Regions from separate parts of the Homo sapiens genome. Here all the other regions are linked to region 1. The links are contacts of gene promoters, found by promoter capture Hi-C in blood cells and fetal thymus (Javierre and others, 2016). All regions are on one chromosome and are shown on one strand. The core of a region is centred on a gene start or on the middle of the fragment in contact, and the rest is flanking DNA. Distances in the headings are between cores, read along the strand shown.

Evidence for each region. Contacts are between HindIII fragments. The CHiCAGO score rates a contact against its expected background, and 5 or more counts as called.
Region 2: a contact is called between a fragment that was not itself captured here and the fragment with the promoter of POLE2 in region 1, in 2 of 17 cell types (activated CD4 T cells and naive CD8 T cells). The highest score is 5.9, in activated CD4 T cells.
Region 3: a fragment that was not itself captured here is called in contact with the fragment with the promoter of POLE2 in region 1 in 1 of 17 cell types (fetal thymus); the score reaches 5.4 in fetal thymus.

The regions. Positions count from the first base shown.
Region 1 is chr14:49,686,105-49,690,825 of GRCh38, forward strand. POLE2 (DNA polymerase epsilon 2, accessory subunit) reads right to left here and starts at 2,110. Exons shown (of 19, transcript NM_002692.4): 1 at 2,032-2,110. The coding sequence starts at 2,099. RefSeq lists enhancers at 1,347-2,108, 2,109-2,868 and a silencer at 2,173-2,222. The HindIII fragment of the contact is 3,892 bases long and covers 646-4,537 here.
Region 2 is chr14:50,175,453-50,180,173 of GRCh38, forward strand. The region is part of intron 7 of SOS2 (SOS Ras/Rho guanine nucleotide exchange factor 2); the gene reads right to left. Among named protein-coding and RNA genes, the nearest start is that of SOS2, 54 kb to the right of the region's middle. The HindIII fragment of the contact is 5,834 bases long and covers 1-4,721 here.
Region 3 is chr14:50,094,590-50,099,310 of GRCh38, forward strand. The region is part of intron 1 of LINC01599 (long intergenic non-protein coding RNA 1599); the gene reads right to left. Among named protein-coding and RNA genes, the nearest start is that of LINC01599, 8.1 kb to the right of the region's middle. The HindIII fragment of the contact is 908 bases long and covers 1,608-2,515 here.

The DNA of each region.
Region 1 (4,721 bases), core at 860-3,359:
TTCTAAGATGGCCCCTAATAATCCATTACTCCTGGTAGTTACACCTATGTAATCCCCTGCCCTTAAGTGTGGGCTGGACCTAGTAACTTGTTTCTAAAAATAGAATATAGCAAAAGGGATAGAATAACTTACTGTATTATAATTTTGAAAGTAAAATTTAAAAGTAAAAAAAATTTAAAAATAACAAGATGTCACCTCCTTGATTAGGTTGCCTCAGAGTTACTAGAAGACTCTCTCTCTTGATGAAGCCATGTTGGGGGCACACATGGCAAGGGACTGAGGATAGCCTCCAGCCAACAGCCTGCCAGGCAATCAGGAACTGAATCCTGCCAACAACTGAATGAGCTTGAAGCGAATGCTGTCTGGACAACATTTGAGATGATCCATCTTGACTGCAACCTTGTGAAAAGACCCTGAAGTTGAGGACCCAACTAAGCCACACCTGAATTCCTAACCCACAGAAAATTTGAGATAATGTGTACTGTTTTAGCCTTTAAATTGTGGGGTAATTTGTCACGCAGCAATAGAATACATTATCTGCCCCCTACAAAGCTCTTGCTCTCTATTGCACCCCCTTACCCCAGCACGGTGCTTTGCAGCTAACAGATTTAAGTATACTTATGACTGAAATAATTAATGAACAAAAGCTTAATATTAGGTCAAATTCTAAGCGAAAAGAAAGTTAATTCATCAGTTCCTCATGCTTTCAAAATGTCAAGGACCAATTGAACAAAATTCATTATTTTCTCCCAAGGCATCTCCCAAAGCACAGTTAAAAGTCCCATAAAACTCACAAAACCAACCAAAAATCTACACACACAAAAGCAATAAAAACTGATACAGAGAGGTATATCCAATCCAGCAGGTATTTCAATATGTATAAAATATTGTGTTCTAGGTCAGGCGCAGTGGTTCACGCCTGTAATTCCAGCATTCTGGGAGGCCACGGCGCGAGGACTACTTGAGCCCAGGAGTTCAAGACCAGCCTGGGCAACATAGCCAGACCCCGTCTCTAAAAAACATACAACAACAAAAAATCAGCCAGGTATGGTGGCCCATGCCTGCAGTCCCAGCTACTTCAGCCCAGGAGGTTGAGGCTGCAGTAAGTCAAGTTCGCATCACTGCCCTCCAGCTTGGGCGAGAGTGAGACCATGACTCAAAAAAAAAAAAATACATATATATATATACACACACACCACACACACACACACACACACACACACACACACACACGTACATATAGAACTCTAAAACACGGAGCAGATTTAATGAGAGAAATCTTGGGAAGGTTCATATGTTCTATAGGTCCTCAAAAACACGGATATGCCCAGGAAACCTGACTTTCACATAAATTGGCAACTGCAGACGTGCAAGTGGGCTTTCTCGGGTCTCTCATCTTATGTCTCAGCAACCTTCCCGGGAGCCTGAGAGCTGTCCAGGTCACAATGTTGATAACCGGCTGCCATAGATAGGTTGCAGCTTCTCGGGCTCAGTTTGACATGTGCAGAAGAGCCTCGGCCCGCCTAGAAGAAACATTAAACTCCTCGCATGGGTCGGGGAAACCAAAGAAGGCACGGCAGCCTCAAGATCCACCTCGCTTCTTAGAACTTTTTTTTAATGGAGTCTCTCTCTGTCGCCAGGATGGAGTAGAGTGGCACGATATCGGCTCACCGCAACCTCCTCCTCCCGGGTTCAAGCGATTCTCCTGCCTCAGCCTCCCAACTAACTGGGACTACAAGCGCGCGCCACCACGCCCAGCTAATTTTTGTATTTTTAGTAGAGACGGGGCTTCACCATGTTGGCCAGGATGGTCTCGATCTCCTGACCTCGTGATCCGCCCGCCTCGACCTCCCAAAGTGCTGGGATTACAAGCGTGAGCCACCGCGCCCGACCGCTTCTTAGAACTCTGAAATTTAAGGTCAAGCCCCCTCTCGGCGCGCGGGGAGCCGCCGCGGTGCGTCCCGCTGCCGCACCAGGCAGACGGGCCCCAGCTCTTCCCTCTCGCCCTTCAAGCTGCCCGAGCCCACTCACCCACGGAGCAGCAAGCCCCGCAACTTGAAGGCGGAGAGCGCCCGGCTCCGCAGCCGCTCCGGCGCCATATTTGCGATTTGGCGCCACCGCCGCAGCTCCGCCCCTTCCCGGGCGCGCCCCTCCCAGCTCCGGCCTCGGCCCTGGCCCGCGTGGCGCTAAACCCTGTTAAGATCCCTGCTTGGTCTCCGCTGCCTGCGCCGCAGCAACTCAGACCTTACAGTTCGCAACCCCGGACCGAGTAGGCTGAAAGTGGAGACCACCTCGCGCTCCTTTGCTGCCGGGAAACTGAGGGCCAGAGCGTCTTCCCTGGTGTCGGGCTGCGTTGAGCCAGCCACAGCGCTCTCACCGCTGCCCTAGACATTGCAGGACTGCGGCCGAGCTTCCCGGACACAGGATCCCCCTTCTTTCGAGGCCATGAGAGCTGTTGGGTTCCCTACTTCGCACAAGCTCTGGAAATACTGTGCCTCGACATTTACCGGAAGCTGTTATAAATCTCCATCGCTCCCACCTACCCCGATTTTTATTTAACTTGAGGGCTTCGTATGCGCCATGCACTGTCATAAGCACTTTAAATGTGTGAATTCATGTGTTGCTCATGACAGCCCAGTGAGCTGTCTACTGTCTTTTCCACAACAGCCTCATTTTACAGATGAGAAAACTGAGACACAAAAATGGTAAAGGACTTGCTCAAGATGAAACGACGAGTTAAATGGTGTAGTCAGGATTTGAACTCAGTTATTCTGATTTCAGGTGGACTGTCAATCTGCCACACTTCAAAACGCTTGCTCCAATGAGTTGACTAACCCGTGGAGTGCTTATAAGTAAACACGCGGCTTATAAAACAGGAGGATGATTTCACAGTACCAATATAAAGTGACCTCCAACGTATACGGGTTTTTTTCTTTTTTAAAAAAAAGCGAAGTTTAATGAAGGAAGGGAAACAAAAGTATATGTATTTGTTTTTGCATTTTAAAAACCTCTGGGCCCGGGCGCGGTGGCTCACATCTGTAATCCCAGAACTTTGGGAGGCCGATGCTGGCAGATCACTTGAGGCCAAGAGTTCGAGAACAGCCGGGCCAACATGGTGAAACCCCGTCTCTACCAAAAAAAAAAAAAAAAAAAAAAAATTAGCCAGGCGTGGTGGCGCGCGCCTGTAATCCCAGCTCCTGGGGAGGTTGAGGCAGGAGAATCTCTTGAGCCTCGGAGGCGGAGGGTGCAGTGAGCCGAGATCGTGCCACCACTCCAGCCTGGGCAACAAAGCAAGGCTCTGTCTCAAAAACAAAAAAAGCCGGGCGCAGTGGTTCACGCCTGTAATCCCAGCACTTTGGGAGGCCGAGGTGGGCGGATCATCTGAGGTCAGGAGTTCGAGACCAGCCTGACCAACATGGAGAAACCCCGTCTCTACAAAAATACAAAAAAATTAGCCAGGCATGGTGGCGCATGCCTGTAATCCCAGCTACTCGGGAGGCTGAGGCAGGAGAATTGTCTGAACCCGGGAGACAGAGGTTGCGGTGAGCCGAGATGGGGCCATTACACTCCAGCCTAGGCAACAAGAGTGAGACTCTGTCTCAAAACAACAGCAACAACAACAACAAAACAACTCTGGAAGGTTAAATCAGAGACCACAAAAATGGTTAACTACAAAGGGGTGAGGGGATAGGGATGAAAGTGAAAACTTTCTTTACAGTGAGACTTTTAATCCATGTGCATGTTTTACATATTCAAAAAATAGAAAATAAAAAGGTGAGCTTAAAATTGAATGCATACTAAAACTAATACACCTAATTGTATATTAAATTGGTAACATAACATCACAAGTGATTTTTGAACACAGTTCTCTTTATTTAGTGAAATATTTTTCAAAGACAAAAAGTACAAAGAAATTTTTAATTTTTATGTAAGAAAGGATAGGAAATACGAATAGAAAGACATATAGTTAATTCTCATTACTGTACCTGTGATAGTTAGATTTTATAAGTAGCCACCAACAAATAATTATTGAATACTAAACCATTCCTACTAGGGGAAGTACAGAATTAGGTTCCTGTGAGCCTCTGGTGACAATGTTTTCATCAACTGATCAACATATAACCTTGTTTTGTTTTTTTTTTTTTTTTTTTTTTGAGACGGAGTTTCGCTCTGTCGCCCAGGCTGGAGTGCAGTGGCGCGATCTCGACTCACTGCAAGCTCCGCCTCCCGGGTTCACGCCATTCTCCTGCCTCAGCCTCCCGTGTAGCTGGGACTACAGGCGCGCGCCACCATGCCCGGCTAATTTTTGTATTTTTAGTAGAGACGGGGTTTCACCGTGTTAGCCAGGATGGTCTCGATCTCCTGACCTCGTGATCCCCCCGTCTCGGCCTCCCAAAGTGCTGGGATTACAGGCGTGAGCCACCGCGCCCGGCCTATAACCTTGTTTTATGTGTGTTTTTATGTAAAGACATCTTTACATTGTGATTCGTTAACACTGAACTCAGGGCCAAGAGCCCTATAACTCATAGCTGAAGGAAGCTTATTTATCACATGTATTTTCTCCATAAGGCACTCCCACTCTCAAATAATTCAACAAAATGAAAAAGACAGACACACACATACCAACAAACATAAAGCTAGTATGGTAGTATTAATAATTATTAACCTGGAGTGGAAGATACACAGGTACTCTTTGAACTATTTTTTCAACTTTTTTTGGT
Region 2 (4,721 bases), core at 1,418-3,917, 490 kb after region 1:
TGTTTGGTGCCCTAGAGGTTTTTACATCTTGGATCAATGCATAATGGGAAATACATAACAGCAAAAGGTAACAAGTAAGAGACTTTGGAAAAGACAATGCAAAAAACATAAACAAGATCTCCGAAGACTAGAAACAGATTCCCTTAAAGCTCTCTGTGCCTTTATATATCCTGAAAAATCTTAGTGTATAGCTTGGGATAGGTATACCCCAGTTTTGGAAACTACTGTAGAATAAATGGTTTTCTAAAATTTATAATGGATTTAACTCATGTTAATTTTAAATGTCTATATAGTTCACTTACTAGTATTTCTCCCCATAAGAAAAACACCAACCACACCAATATAAAATGTGAGAAAGAATCTGATATGCTGCTTTAAAAAAATCTTCATAAATATTACCATAATTTTCACATTTTGTTAAATTATAATCTTTTCAACAGACTTATTATCCAGTAACCAAACTTCTTACTAGGATACACAAAAAGTGCCACCAATTTTCCTAAAGATTAATTCATTTTCACATTTGTTATGATCTGAATGTTTGTGTTCCCTCAAAAGTCATATATTGAAACCTAATCCCCAATGCAACAGTATTAAGAGATGGGGCCTTTAGGAGGTGATTGGATATGAGGGCAGAGCCCCTGTGAACGGGGTTAGTGCCCTTATAAAAGGGGCCTAAGGGAGCTTGTTTGTGCTATCCATCATGTGAGGACACAACAAGAAAGCACCATCTATGAACCAGAAGAGCAAACCCTCACTAGGGCACCAAACTAGACACCAAATCTGTTAGCCTCTTGATATGGGACTTCCTAAATGTGAACTGTGAGAAATAAATTTCTATTGTTTATAAGCCATCCAGTTTATGATATTTTATTAGAGCAGCCTGAATAGACTAAGACAGTATTAAACTAATTAATATAGTGAATTATTCTGGATATTTTATATACAGTGCTTGAACTGGAACCAATATGAAACTTCAAAATTAGTCTACAAGATCAACTGTTTTGCTTATTTGTACTAAAATGCCTGATAAAGTGCATTCTAAAATTTTTGTAGCATGTATTTACAGTGTAAGGAGTCCTCTGATAATAACAGGAGCTACATTTGAGTATTTAATACACATCAAACATTATGCTTATGCTTTATATATACATTACCATTTAATTTCCTAATAACTATAAGAGGTATATATTATGATGATCACCATTTTACAAATGAGCAAACTGAGTCTCAGAGATTAAGTGAATTGCTCAAGGTAACACAACCATTAACTGGGGCTGGGCGTGATGGCTCACGCCTGTAATCCCAGCACTTTGGGAGGCTGAGTCAGGAGGATTACCTGAAGTCAAGAGTTTGAGAACAGCCTGGCCAACATGGGGAAACCCCATCTCTACTAAAAATACAAAAATTAGCCAGGTGTGGTGGCATGCGCCTGTAGTCCCAGCTACTTAGGAGGCTGAGGCAGGAGGACTCCTTAAACCCAAGAGGCAGAGGTTGCAGTGAGCCAAGATCGCGCCACTGCACTCCAGCCTGGGTGAAAGAGCGAGATTCCGCCGCAAACAAACAAACAAAACTATTAATTGGCCCAAAGCCTTAAGTTCTAACTTCAAATCTTATTTTTTTAAGTCTGCTACACAGTCCAGGTATGGTGCCTCATGGTCAACAGAACAGCCTAGCCAATATGGTGAAACTCTGTCTCTACCAAAAAAATACCAAAATTAGCCAGGCGTGGTGGTCCACACTTGTAGTCTCAGTCACTCAAGAGGCTAAGGCAGGAGAATCGCTTTAACCCGGGAGGCGGAGGTTGCAATGAACTGAGACTGTGCCACTGCACTCCAGCCTGGGCAACAGAGTGAGACCCTGTCTCTAAATAAATAAATAAATAAAGTACGCTACACAGCTTCTAAAGATGCTTTTTGTTTTTAGTTTTATTAAGGAAGCATTATTTTATCTTAAACTGAATGAATTTTTTTTTAAGTTAAAACAATTGAGTTTGGCCCGAAAAAGGATTTCATCTAACTCTTCCAATTTCACTGAATATCTAGGATGACAGCTTTATTAATAACTGGGCCCTTTAACATTCAAATTCCACAGCAAAAATTCCTAATAAAATAGGACTGAAACAAGAAATGTGTTGAGTGCTTTTAATGAGTATCCAAAGTTCTTATAGACTGTGTATTTAATGCATACTTTATATGAATATATGAGTTAACTTTAAAAATATTCCTCTCTTGAAGTAATTTTGAGAATTAAGTATAATTTGTATTCCATGATAACAAATTTTTGACAATAGAGAAGTGGAAGATAATAAACAATGGGAATTTATAGTACAGAAGGCAGGGAGAAGATGGTAAGTTCAGTTTTAAACATGTCATATTTGAAGTGCGTTTAGGGTATCCAAGTGCATCAATTCAAGGCAGCTGGTTATATGAAAGTGTATAGATACATACACATATGTACACGGTACACAGTGCTTAAAAGAAAGTGATGGCCTGGAAATACAAATAAGAAGTCACCAGTATATAGACATGAAGTCACCCAAGGAGAGCACAGAACAGAAAAACAGGGGCTGATAACAGAAGTTGGATAATAGCTATAATAATTAAGAGACTTAGAAGAAGAAATCAGAGAAGACGAAAATTGGGAACATGTAGTATCACAGGAGCTGATATGGTTTGATTTTGTGTCCCCGTCCAAATCTCATGTTCAACTGTAATCCCCAATTTTGGAGGTGGGGCCTAGTGGGAGGTAACTGGATCATGGGGGTGGATTTCTTCCTTTAATGCTGTTCTTGTAATAGAGTTCTCAGGAGATCTAGTTGTTTAAAAGTGTGTGGCACCTCCCTGCTCCTTCCTCTTGCTTTGACCATGTGAAGACGTGCCTGCTTCCCTTTTGGCTTCCGCCATGATCGTAAGTTTCCTGAGGCCTCCCCAGCCGTGCTTCCTGTAGAGCCTGTGGAACTCTGAGCCAATTAAATCTCTTTTCTTTATAAATCACCCAGTCTCAGTCTTCTTTTTCTTTTTTTTGTTGAGACAGAGTCTCACTCTGTAGCCCAGGCTTGAGTGCAGTGTTGCAATCTCGGCTCACTGCAACCCCCACCTCCTGGGTTCAAGTGATCCTCCTGCCTCCAAGTGATCCTCCTGCCTCTGCCTCTGTAGTAGCTAGAACTACAGGTGTGCACCACCATGCCCGCTAGTGTGTGTGTGTGTGTGTGTGTGCATATATATATATATATATATATATATATATATATATATATACACACATATACACACACATATATATATATATATTTTTTGGAGACAGGGTCTTGCTCTGTCACCTAGGCTGGAGTGTAGTGGCACGATCTCGGCTCACTGCAACCTCCGCCTCCCGGGTTCAAGCAATTCTCCTGCCTCAGCCTCCCGAGTAGCTGGGATTACAGGTGCATGCCACCACACCCAGCTAATTTTTGCATTTTTTAGTAGAGACAGGGTTTCGCCAGGCTGGCAAGGCTGGTCTGGAACTCCTGACCTCAGGTGATCCGATCCACCCACCTCAGCCTCCCAAAGTGCTGGGATTACAGGCATGAGACATCACGCCCAGCCTTCAGGTATACAGGAACCAAGAGATAAGAGCAGTAACAAATACTACAGACATTAAGTATGAAATAAAAATATCCACTGGATTTGGCAATTAAGTTACTTGTCAAAGGCAATTTATATCCTGATTAAAACATACATGGTAGTGTTTTCATAAAGAATGGTAAAAAATAATATAAAGACAATTGGCTGCAAAGAAAAAATGAGAGAGGAAATGAAAAAACTTTCTTCACTCTAGTTAATTATTCTACTAGAGTGAAGAAAGGTTTGTTCATTTGTTTGCTTGTTTGTTTCAGGACTATAAGGATTTTTACCATATTCAAACGTCAAGGGGTAAAAGCCAGTTTATTTTTTATTTTTATTTTTTTTGAGACTGGGTCTCACTCTGTACCCAAGGCTGGAGTGCAGTGGCGTGATCATGACTCATTGCAGCCTTGACCTCCCAGGCTCAAGCAATTCTCCTGGCATGCCACAGGTGCACGCCACCACACTCGGCTAAGTTTTTATATTTTGTAGAGATGAGGTCTCCCTATTTTGCCCAGGCTGGTCTCAAACACCTGGGTCCAAGCAATCCTCTGACCTTAGCCTCCCAAAGTGCTGGGATTATAGGCAAGAGCCACCACGTCTGGCTGGAAAAGTCAGTTTAGATGTAGAAGTTTTACATATTTAGCCAAGTATTACCTATGCCAACATAACTTTTGTTGTTAGTGTTGAGATAGTAAAAATAAAATTTTATTTGTATCTCTCCACTTATTTTCATTTTATCTAAGTGTATTCCTGAACCAACTAACTTGCATACTCTCCCTCAATACAGTATTTATCTCCTTTAAATTGTAGGCCTCATAGAAAAATCAGTATGAGTACATAGGAGGTTGAGGTTATCTCAACTTTTTAAGATTTCTCCAAATCTTCCTCCTATAGGGAACATAATCCTGAAATCACACTCCAGATTCATCTTTATTTTTTATTTATTTTTCTATTTATTTTTTGAGACAGAGTCTCACTATTCCACCCAAGCTGGAGTGCAGTGGCGCGATCTCGGCTCACTGCAACCTCCGCCTTCCGGGTCAAGTGATTCTCCTGCCTTAGCCTCCTGAGTAGCTGGGATTACAGGAGCTCACCACCACGCCCAGCTAACTT
Region 3 (4,721 bases), core at 812-3,311, 410 kb after region 1:
AGCTGGAACTTCAGGTATGTGCCACCACGCCAGGTTAATTTTTTGAAATTTATTTTTAGTAAAGACAAGGTCCCACTACATTATCCAGGCTGGTCTCAAATGATCCTCCTGCCTCGGCCTCCCAAAGTACTGGGATTACAACAAGCGTGAGTTACAACACCTGGTCAGATTTTTTTTTTTTTTTAAAGAAAGGCAAAATTTATTATTAGACTCAAAATATTCACAACCATTTTCTTTTTTTTTTATACTTTAAGTTCTAGGGTACATGTGCACAACGTGCAGGTTTGTTACATAAGTATACATGTGCCATGTTGGTGTGCTGCACCCATTAACTCATCGTTTAACATTAGGTATATCTCCTAATGCTATCCCTCCTCCCTCCCCCGACCCCACAACAGGACCCTGTGTGTTGTGTTCCCCTTCCTGTGTCCAAGTGTTATCATTGTTCAATTCCCACCTATGAGTGAGAACATGCGGTGTTTGGTTTTCTGCCCTTGCGATAGTTTGCTGAGAATGATGGTTTCCAGCTTCATCCATGTCCCTACAAAGGACATGAACTCATCCTTTTTTATGGCTGCATAGTATTCTATAGTGTATATGTGCCACATTTTCTTAATCTAGTCTATCATTGATGGACATTTGGGTTGGTTCCAAGTCTTTGCTATTGTGAATAGTGACCTGGCCAGTTTTAAAACTTGCTCTCCTGGCCAGGTGCAGTGGCTCATGCCTGTAATCTCAGCACTTTGGGAGGCTGAGGTAGGAGAATCGCTTGAGCCCAGGAGTTCAAGACTAGCCTAGGCAAAGTAGCAAGACCTCATTTTGTTGTTGTTGTTGTTGATTTGTTTGTTTTAATAAGTTTTAAAAAAGAAAAAAGGCCAGGCACAGTGGCTTACACCTGTAATCCCAGCACTTTAGGAGTCCGAGGCAGGTGGATAGGCCAAGGCAGGCAGATCACCTGAGGTCGGGAGTTCCAGACCAGCCTGATCAACATGCAGAAACTCTGTCTCTTCTAAAAATACAAAATTAGCTGGGCATGGTGGCACATGCCTGTGATCCCAGCTACTCAGAAGGCTGAGGTAGGAGAATCATTTGAACCCAGGAGGCGGAGGTTGCGGCAGTGAGCCGAGATTGCGCCATTGCACTCCAGCCTGGGCGACAAGACCGAAACTCTGTCTCAGAAAAAACGAAAAGAAAAAACAAAACAAACAAACAAAAAAACACTTGCTCTCCAGATGGCAAACCTCACTGCCCAAGTACCTCTCCTAATACATGTTGCAATTCTCCCTCCACTTCTCAGGAACCCCCATAATCATGGGGGTTAGAACCAAGCCCCAGAATCTACCTCCTTATGTAAGCTACTCATTTTCTCATCTCTTGAGTTATTCTCACTAAATAATGATCCCTTGATTGGGGGATGGAGAGGTGCAGGCTTGAACACTTTCTGGGTGCAAAGAAGTACATTTCCTCTTTTGTTACATTTAAATCAAACCACTCCCACAGCAGGTTTTTGTTTCCTCCCTTTTACTTTCTGATGAGTTTCATAACGCTTACTTTTGTAGTTTGATAAGATCTCCACAGTATGATCAGCAACCAACACTATTCTAGAAAGCTTCTAAATCAACTGTTAAGATGATCTGGTGGGTATTATGGACAAAATGCAAACTTAAAAAGCAGATTACTTTCTGGGAAGGTAATGATTGAGAAGGATCTTAAGAGTAGGGTTTAATGGGCTGAAAGGTTTGAATGCTCTACCAGTTAGGATCTGATCCACTGCAAGGGAGAGAAACCCAGCCCCAAACCAGCAGAACAGAGTTAACTAGGTGAGGTAACTGGGAAGTCCAGGAGCTGCGGTGGCTTTAGACATAGCTGGCTTCAGAGACTCAAACAGAATCATCGGAAAAACGTTCTAATTTCTCTGTTTGCTTCTAGACTCTGCTTTCCTCTATCTTGACTTTTACTCTTGAGCAGCTCAAAACTTACTTTATCCTTGGCACTAGCTACCCCAGAAAAGAAGGGCCTCTTATGCAGGGGGAATCCTGTGGGTTAGCCTCGGTCAGGAAACCCAAGTCTCTCCTGAACTTGGTGGGCTATTGGGAGTAGCATGATGAAAAGTCTGGAACCCCAGGTTAGGAGTACGCTCTGCCACCACCGCCTGCACAGATAAGTGTAGAGAGATATTGAAGGTGGGGAGACTATTAGAGGAGTGAGGCCCAACCTGAGGTGATGATGGCCGTGAAGATGGAAAGTGGGGGAAGACTGTGAGAACCCATCACAGATCAGTGTATGACACGCTGAGTTCATGTGAGGCAGAAGAAATTAGAAATGCTAAAAGAATGGTGATGCCATTAGTAAAACAAGAATATGAGGCAGAAGAGTCTATTTTTGCAGAAATTTTGCTAAGACATACTCTTGGTTGGGCAAGCAAAGGAAGACATCAGGCAGGCAGCTGAAGGGGAGAGGTCAGACTTAAGAGAGGGATCGGAGCTAGAGGTCTAGAGAGGGGGCCTCTACAATAAGCTTGTAGTTGGAATCATGAAAATTGCAAGATCTATGTGTGCAGAGGTGAGTGGTCAAAAGACAGAGCCCCAGGGAATTGTGAGTTAAGCAACAGAGAAGGAAAAGGAACGAAGGATGGTGACGGAGGAGCAACCAGACGCTGGGCGGAGAAAGTCAGACCTACTTAAGTCAAATAGGAGAAAAGTTCCAGTATCAAAAAGAAAAAGAAATAGATCCACATGTTCAACAATATTTCCAATATTGGTTCTATACTCATATTTTCCTCATTCCTTTTCATAAGTGAACTCACAATCAAACTAAGTCCAACGAGCAGCTATTGAGGCTACAAGATTTACTGCTTTCTGAATACCAGTGGCTTCCATCCTAAGTTGTATTCATCTGAGACCTGAGTTGCTTATCATTAGTAACAACATATTCATTTTGGGGTCTTCTCTCATTTTTTTTAGAACAAGGACCAGGTATTAAAACAGCTGCCCAAGTACCAAGGTGCAAAGATGGCACTGCTGCAGATAGCTAAGCTGCTAAGCAGGCAGCATCATTATGTTGACTTGGGGGCAGATGTATAAAATCTAATCCTGGCAGATGAAAGTCAGGTTGGAAGTCTCAGTGTATGAAATACAAAAATGGGAGCTATATGACCATCAACCTGTTTGAGAACTGACTGTCCCTGGAGTCAAGGCAGAAGATATTTCAGTATTTCACCTTTAAGTGTTCTGTTTTTTTCCAATAATTCCTTGAATTTTGGTACTTCCCAGGGCCTTAACCTGGGCTTTCCCCCAATCTATACATTTGGGGTGATCTATAAGACCTCAACTTGGCTGGGCACGGTGGCTCACGTCTGTAATCCCAGCACTTTGAGAGGCTGAGGCAGGTGGATGGCCTGAGGTCAGGAGTTCGAGACCAGCCCGGACAACATGGCGAAACCCCGTCTCTACTAAAAATACAAAAATTAGCCGGGTGTGGTGGCACGCGCCTGTAATCCCAGCTACTCAGGAGGGTGAGGCAGGAGAATCGCTTGAATCTGGGAGACAGAGGTTGCAGTAAGCCAAGATAGCACCACTGCACTCCAGCCTGGGCTACAGAATGAGACTCTGTCTTGCCAAAAAAAAAAAAAAAAAAAAAGAAAAGACATCATCTTTCTCAGTCCACCCTCTCTTCTGCCCCCAAACCTATATACGGTCATCCCTCAGTATCCATGGGGAATTGATTCCAGGACCACCCACAGATATCAAAATCCACAGATGTTCAAGTCCTTTGTATAAAATAGTGTAGTATTTGCATATAACCTATACACATCCTCCCATATAGCTTATTACTTTTTTATTGGACTGAATTTATTTTTTTATCTTCAGCTTTTAAATTCAGGGGTACATGTGCAGGATGTGCAGGTTTGTTGCATAGGTAAACGTGTGTCATGGTGGTTTGCTGCACAGATCATCCCATCACCTAGGTATTAAGCCCAGCATCCATTTGCTATGTGTTTGCCCTCCACACCCACCCCCTACCCCCATATAGTTTAAATCATCTCTAGACTACTTATAATACCTAATACAATGTAAATGTTATGTAAATAGTTGTTATACTGTCTTGTATAGGGAATAATGACAAGAAAAACTCCGTCTGTACATGTTCAGTACAGACACAACCATCTATTTTTTTTCCCGAATATTTTCAACCTGTGTTTGGTTGAAACCCATGGAACTCACATATACAGAGGACCGCTTGTGTTTAGCTGCCTATTACATACATGTAACCAGGGTCACAGTGTGTGGCCACTCAGGCTGGGTACAGCAAAGAGCAACATTGGAAGGGGACACCATTCACACTGTAGACATCATTATTGTTTTGAAGTTAAAACCAAAAATTAAAACAGTTGATTCCAAACTTACATGATTTATATACAGGACAATTTTCTGGCAAAGGACAGTAAAGTCTCTAGTTCTAATAAAATTAATGTTATTACAATTCTTTTCAAAATAAAAGTGTTTTAAAGAAAAGGGACTCTGACCTGCAGAAGGGCAGCATGAGGACCGTGGAGGCCTTGACCCCATCAGGATGCACCGCGGGCCCCTACACAACTTACTGTATCTGCCTTAGTCTAGCTCCACAGCAGTTCTCAGATCCCGTCCTCTTCATTCCTACTGCTACTACCAGAGTTCAGACCCCACTCCTCAACATCTCTTACCTGTTCATTCTTCCTTCCT